Linked DNA regions of Homo sapiens: region 1 is linked to region 2. Evidence: promoter capture Hi-C in human tissues and cell types (Jung and others, 2019). All regions are on one chromosome and are shown on one strand. The core of a region is centred on a gene start or on the middle of the fragment in contact, and the rest is flanking DNA. Distances in the headings are between cores, read along the strand shown.

The links. The method cuts DNA at HindIII sites, captures the fragments that hold promoters and counts their contacts. A contact is called where the count stands out against the background at its distance.
Region 1: a fragment that was not itself captured here is called in contact with the fragment with the promoter of SERPINE1 in region 2 in 1 of the 25 tissues and cell types used here (mesenchymal stem cells).

Annotation. Positions count from the first base shown.
Region 1 is chr7:102,128,769-102,132,062 of GRCh38, reverse strand. The region is part of intron 8 of CUX1 (cut like homeobox 1); the gene reads right to left. Among named protein-coding and RNA genes, the nearest start is that of SH2B2, 160 kb to the left of the region's middle. The HindIII fragment of the contact is 4,034 bases long and covers 1-3,294 here.
Region 2 is chr7:101,125,483-101,128,791 of GRCh38, reverse strand. It overlaps SERPINE1 (serpin family E member 1), which reads right to left and starts at 1,688. Exons shown (of 9, transcript NM_000602.5): 1 at 1,548-1,688; 2 at 128-399. The coding sequence starts at 398. RefSeq lists enhancers at 1-472, 473-1,252, 2,033-2,812. The HindIII fragment of the contact is 16,005 bases long and covers 1-3,309 here.

The sequences.
Region 1 (3,294 bases), core at 624-3,123, 1.0 Mb before region 2:
CACCCCCTTATTATATAAATATACACCTAAAATTGCTCCTAGTGTTTTTATGGATTTCTTTCTGGTCACATTTAAATGTTTTAAACATCTAAACTGAGCGTGGTGGCTCACGCCTGTAATCCCAGCACTTTGGCAGGCAGAGGTGGGTGGATCACTTGAGGTCAGGAGTTCAAGACCAGCCTAGCCAACATGGTGAAACCCCATCTTTACTAAAATACAAAAATTGGCTAGGCATGGTGGTGCGCGCCTGTAATCCCAGCTACTCAGGAGGCTGAGGCAGGAGAACTGCTTGAACCTGGGAGGCAGAGGTTGCAGTGAGCCAAGATCACGCCACTGCACTTCAGCCTGGGTGAGACAGCAAGACCCTGTCTCAAAAAAAAAAAATAAATAAATAAAATAAAAAATAAATAAAAATAACTAAATAGATTTTATTTTGCATGGGGCTCAGCTCTGATTCTACTGGCTTCTACATAGTTGGCTTGTTATTCTACCATTTACTAAAGACTCTGTCCTTCTTTAATGTACTTAAATTTGAGCAGTTTTTATGTTCAAACTTTTTTTTTTTTTTTTAAACAGAAATTATGTCTTGCTGTTTTGCCCAGGCTGGTCTTGAATTCCTGGCCTCAAACGACCCTCCTGCCTCGGCCTCCCAAAATGTTAGGATTAGAGGCGTGAGCCACTGCACCTGGCCAATTGAGCAATTTTTATATACAACTTTTTCTTAGTTTTGACGTCTGCAAAAATTCAGAAAGCTACTATAAGAAAATGACAATCAACCATCTGCATAAAAAAAGAATTAGCCACTTAACACAACTGGTCCTTTTTCCATTGGAAAAATCGATCGGAAATTGGATTTCTAATTACATTTGGGCTTTCCACGGAAACCGCAGAACAGCCGGTCATCTATATATTCATTAAATCCTACAAACTGGAGAGTTTTTTTTTTTTTTTTTTGAGATGGAGTCTCACTCTGTTGACCAGGCTGAAATGCAGTGGCATGATCTCGCTGACTCAGCTTTCTGAGTAGCTGGGACTACAGGCGTGTACCACCACGCCCGGCTAATTTTCGTATTTTCAGTAGAGACAGGGTTTCATCATGTTGGCCAGGCCGGTCTTGAACTCCTGACCTCAGGCAATCTGCCCACCACAGTCTCCCAAAGTGCTGGGATTACAGGCGTGAGCCACCACTCCCAGCCTGCAGAGATTTTTTTTTTAAGGGTGGGAAGATCACAGAAATGCTTCGAAGCACACATCGTCCAACTTAGAAGAAGCAAAAAGGTCAAAATATAGGCTATTCCATAAAATTTCAAGAATAAGCTGTGCTTTTGTGCTTCAGGCTATTTGGATAGCAAGGATTCTCAACACTACATAATTTTTTTTATAAGATGGAGTCTTGCTCTGTTGCCCAGGCTGGAGTGCAGTGGCGTGATTTCAGCTCACTGCAACCTCTGCCTCCTGGGTTCAAGCGATTCTCCTGCCTCAGCCTCCCAAGTAGCTGGGATTACAAGCTCCCGTCACCACGCCCAGCTAATTTTTGTGTTTTTAGTAGAGATGGGGTTTTGCTATGTTGGCCAGACTGGTCTCGAACTCCTGACCTCAGGTGATCCACCCATCTCAGCCTCCCAAAGTGATGGAGTTACAGGTGTGAGCCACCTTACCCGGCCAACACTACATAATTTTTATTTTTTCCCAACCCTCTTTAGGAAAATCAGAGGGCACTGCTGTGGTCATGTGGGGGTTAATTCTCACTGATGTTGAATGCCCCAGTCTTTGCTCTGTTCATTGGAGCATTAAATCTGAAGGCTCAGGAGAGTGATGCAGTCGGGCTGTGCGGGAGTGATGCCATAAAGCTCGGCATTAAAAATTCATATTGCAGGCTTGCCTTAGAACTCAGCACTGGCTGAAAGGAGAGGTGGCGAGGAAATATGAGACACCCCACTGTCTTTCTGGCAATTGGAGACATTCCTCAACAAATAGCACCTCGGGAAGAGAATGAAAGGGCAAACAAGCCGTGAAGGAAATCAATGAGTTCAATTATCTCGCTCGCTCCTGCCTTCCTATAGGAAACTTTTCATTCTTTGAGGTGGGTTCCAAAAAGTTTTTTAACGAAATCCCCGAACAAGAGCCCTGGGCATCCTTGCTGGGTGCCTGGCTGTTTGGCACCTCTTTTAATTTGTTTCACACCAGCCCACGGTGCCCCAAATTTTCCAAGTCAGATGGAACCAGATCTCCAATGCGGGCCGCCACCTTGGTGTCACAGTCAGCTGGGCGGGGACCGAACAACTTGTTCTCACTTTAAAACTTGGATCTTGCAAAAATGTGGCACATAGAAGACAGTTAGTTACTAGATTATTAACCTCTGGTGTTGATTTTTTCTTTGAGATGGAGCCTCACTCTGTTTCCCAGGCTGGAGTGCAATGGCACAATCTCGGCTCACTGCAGCCTCTGCCTCCCAGGTTCAAGCCATTCTCCTGCTTCAGCCTCCCGAGTAGCTGGGATTACAGGCACCCACTACCACGCCCAGCTAATTTTTGTATTTTTAGTAGAGACAGGGTTTTACCATGTTGGCCAGGCTGGTCTCGAACTCCTGACCTCAAGTGATCTGCCCATCTTGGCCTCCCAAAGTGCTGGGATTACAGAGGTGAGCCACTGTGCCCAGCCCTGGTGTTTGATTTTTTAGAGACCCATCTATGAAGGCATTTGCAGCTGTGCAATGGTTTGAACTTGGAACTTTTGGCCACCACATTTAGTGGCACCTCAATGGTGACTGATGCAGATTTTAAAATTTAGGGTCCCTGAGGAAGATGATGGGAAACAAAGCTTTACACCTGGGTGCCCCAGCTGTGGCACGCTAATATGGATGAGTAGGTCTTGCAGTGCGGATAATGATTTTTACAAACTCATCATGGAAAGCGACATAATTCTTAAGAGTGGGAAGAGACCTTGAGCAGGGGGAGGTAAGCAGACCTTTTTAAAATGTGCCAGGTGATGCCAGGTGCCTTGCAGGCAGCAGGAGCAGCAATGTCAGCCACCCTTTATAGAGGTCCTGTACCAGGCACTAATGTGGCATTCTTTTCTCTTTTTTTTTTGAAACAGAGTCTCTGTTGCCCAGGCTGGAGTGCAGTGGCGGGATCTCAGCTCACTGCAACCTCCACCTCCCCAGTTCAAGTGATTCTTCTACTTCAGCCTCCCGAGTAGCTAGAATTACAGACACATGCCACCACGCCCAGCAAATTTTTGTATTTTTAATAGAGACAGGGTTTCCTCATGTTGGCCAGTCTGGTCTCAAACTCT
Region 2 (3,309 bases), core at 439-2,938:
AGATGGGGTGGCCCCTGCAGCACAGCTGTATGGGGCTTGGCTCGGCTAAGCCAGAGCCAGCCTTTCCTTGGCTTCTGGTAGGTCTGTTCTGCATGCCACCCACCTCCCCTGGTGTCCCGTGGCTCACCATCAATCTTGAATCCCATAGCTGCTTGAATCTGCTGCTGGGTTTCTCCTCCTGTTGTCAGCTGGAGCATGGCCAACACCGAGGCCACCCCATAGGGTGAGAAAACCACGTTGCGGTCCTTGGAGGCCTGCGCCACCTGCTGAAACACCCTCACCCCGAAGTCTGAGGCCAGGTGGGCCACGTAGGATGGGGGATGGTGCACAGCAGACCCTTCACCAAAGACAAGGGCCAGGCCCAGGACTAGGCAGGTGAGGGCTGGAGACATCTGCATCCTAGAGCAATGGAAAGAGGGCTGGTGAAGGAATCGTTCTGGAAGACAGGCGGGAGGGGAGGGGAGCTGGCCAGCTGTGGGCCCTGCTCTTCTTGTTTCCTGCAAGCAGGTGGTAAGTGAACACTAGGGCAAGGTGCAGGAAGAGACCATGACATGTTCAGGTTCTAAGCCCATCCCACTCCGTCTCACTCAGACTGACTTATCCCCGGGCAGTGGCAGGGAGTCTTCGCCCATCTTGCCCTGTGGGAATCTTGGAATCCAGTCCATCTCCCTTCCCTCTGTGTCCCGTAAAAAAGCCTTAGAAGAAAAGCAGGTGAGAAGTCATTACCACTCTCTGCCTTTGCAGCCCAGGGGGAATTTAGCCCAGACTCAATTATCAATTATCACAACATCTTTGATTTGCATAAGCTTTAAATTTGCTTTCTTTTCTTTTCTTTCTTTTCTTTCTTTCTTCCTCTTTCCTCTTTCTTTCTTTCTTTCTTCTTTACTTCCTTCCTTCTTTCCTCTCTCTCTTTCTCTCTCTTTCTTCCTTCCTTTCATTCATTTTTAGAGACAGGGTCTTGCTCTGTCACCCAGGCTGGGTGCAATGGCTCAGTCTTGGCTCCCTGCAGCCTCCGCCTCCCCAGCTGAAGCAATCCTCCCACCTCAGCCTCCCAAGTAGCTGGGAATACAGGCACACCAGCACGCCCAGCTAATTTTTGTATTTTTTTGGGAGAGCAGGGTTTTGCCATGTTGCCCAGGCTGGTCTCAAACTCCTGGGCTCAAGTTATCTGCCTGCCTCAGCCTCACAAAGTGCTGGGATTACAGGCATGAGCCACAGTGCCCAGCCTTAATTCTCTTAATGCTTTCCCAGCGATTGTTTCATTCAAGTTAGCAGGCATGAGGTGGGAAATGGGTAAGTGTCTTGATGCAGAGGGACTGAGAGAGTCAAGGTTCTTGTTACTGGGTGATGGGGTTGTTGGTGACGCCTGACCATCCTCCCTGCTCTCCTGCAGTCACCCCTAGGGCAGGGTCGACCCAAGGCTGCAGGTCCGAGGAAAAGAAAATAGAGGAATAGCGGGGGATCATGGAGGGAGGAGATTCTGGGGAGGCGAGTTCTCTGCCTTAAGCCCGAAGTAAGAGGTTGGAGGGAGTTTGCTTTTCTCCTACCTGAAGTTCTCAGAGGTGCCTTGCGATTGGCGGTTCGTCCTGCTCTGGCGGCGGCTGCTGAGCTGCAGGAATTCAGCTGCTGGAGGGGGGCGTGTGGGTCTTCTTGACAGCGCTCTTGGCCCTGCAGCCAAACACAGCTGTGCTCCTCTGTGGGCCACTGCCTCCTTTTATACCAGATGTGGGCAGGAAATAGATGAACTCATGTTCCAGCCCCACCCACTCACTGGCTCTGGGAGTCCGTCTGAACAGCCAGCGGGTCCCCCTCGACACCTCCCTCTCTGGGACTTGCTGAGGCATGTGTGTGTGTGTGTGTGTGCTGCTCTGTGTGTGTACGTGTGTAAGAGCATTCAGGAACAATTGAGCAAACCCCAATAGCCTTGGCCTGAGAACCTCCCTTGACCTTTCTGCCCTCTGCCTGTGTCTGTCTCTCCCGGATGTCCTGCCAGGTTGACTGTCTGCCATGCCGGGTGACCCAAAAAGCCTAGGACCCCTAGTGTTCAGCTTGGAGAAAAAAAAAACAGCTCACGTTGCCTGCTTTTCCTTTGGCGAACCAGGTCACTGTGGAGTTATCAAAGATAACCTCCATCAAAACGTGGAAGTTTTCCCCCAGGGCTGTCCACCCGGTGCTCTGGACCACCTCCAGGAAAGAGCGCCCCTCCCTCCTCCTGGGCCCAGCCCAACAGCCACAGGGCATGCAGCCAGCCACGTGATTGTCTAGGTTTTGTCTGTCTAGGACTTGGGCCCAACAGAGGACTCTTGGTCTTTCCCTCATCCCTGCCATGTGCCCGGCCGCCTCCGATGATACACGGCTGACTCCCCACGTGTCCAGACTCTCTCTGTGCCCCTGAGGGCTCTCTTGTGTCAACAACCTTGTCTGGCTGAGGTTGGAGGTGTGCTGGGTGGGGTGGTGGTGGCTGAACGGGACCAGGGGTTACCATGGTAAAAGCTTGGTAAGGAAACAGGAGACCAACGTGTAAGTTTCACTTCTTCGAGCTGCCCGCTAGGACTTGGGGCAGCTTGTCCTTTATCCTCTTCCTCCAGACACAGACACAAGGGGAAAAGGGATAGAAACAGAGTGTCAATTCATGGCAGGTTTGCAGGGTGTGCTTTTAGGGCAAGGGGGTGAGGGGAGGAAGAGTGACCGATAGATTCTGTGGAGCAGTGGTCCTCAACGTTTTTGGCACCAGGGACTGGTTTCATGGAAGACAATTTTTTCACAGACCAGGGTGGGATGGTTTCGGGATGATTCAAGCACATTACATTTATTGTGTGCTTTATTTCTATTATTATTACATTGTAATATATATAATGAAATAATTCCACAATTCACCATCGTGTAGAATCAGTGGGAGCCCTGAGCTTGTTTTCCTGCAACTAGATGGTCCCATCTAGGGGTGATGGGAGACCGTGACAGATCATCAGGCATTAGATTCTCATAGGGAGCTTGCAACCTAGATCCCTCACATGAACAGTTTAGAATAGGGTTCGAGCTCCTATGAGAATCTAATGCCGCCGCTGATCTGACAGGGAGTGGAGCTCTGGTGGTAATGCGAGTGATGAGGAGTGGCTGTAACTACAGATGAAATTTCACTCACCTGCCACTCACCTCCTGTTATGCAGCCTGGTTCCTAACAGGCTATGGACCAGTACGGGCCCCTGGCCCAGAGGTTGGGTACCTCTGCTGTAGAGGGTGGAAACTGGCTAGCAGTGGGTGAGCATGTAGGGCTAGACTAGTGGATTTTGTTGTTGTTGTTGTTTTTTG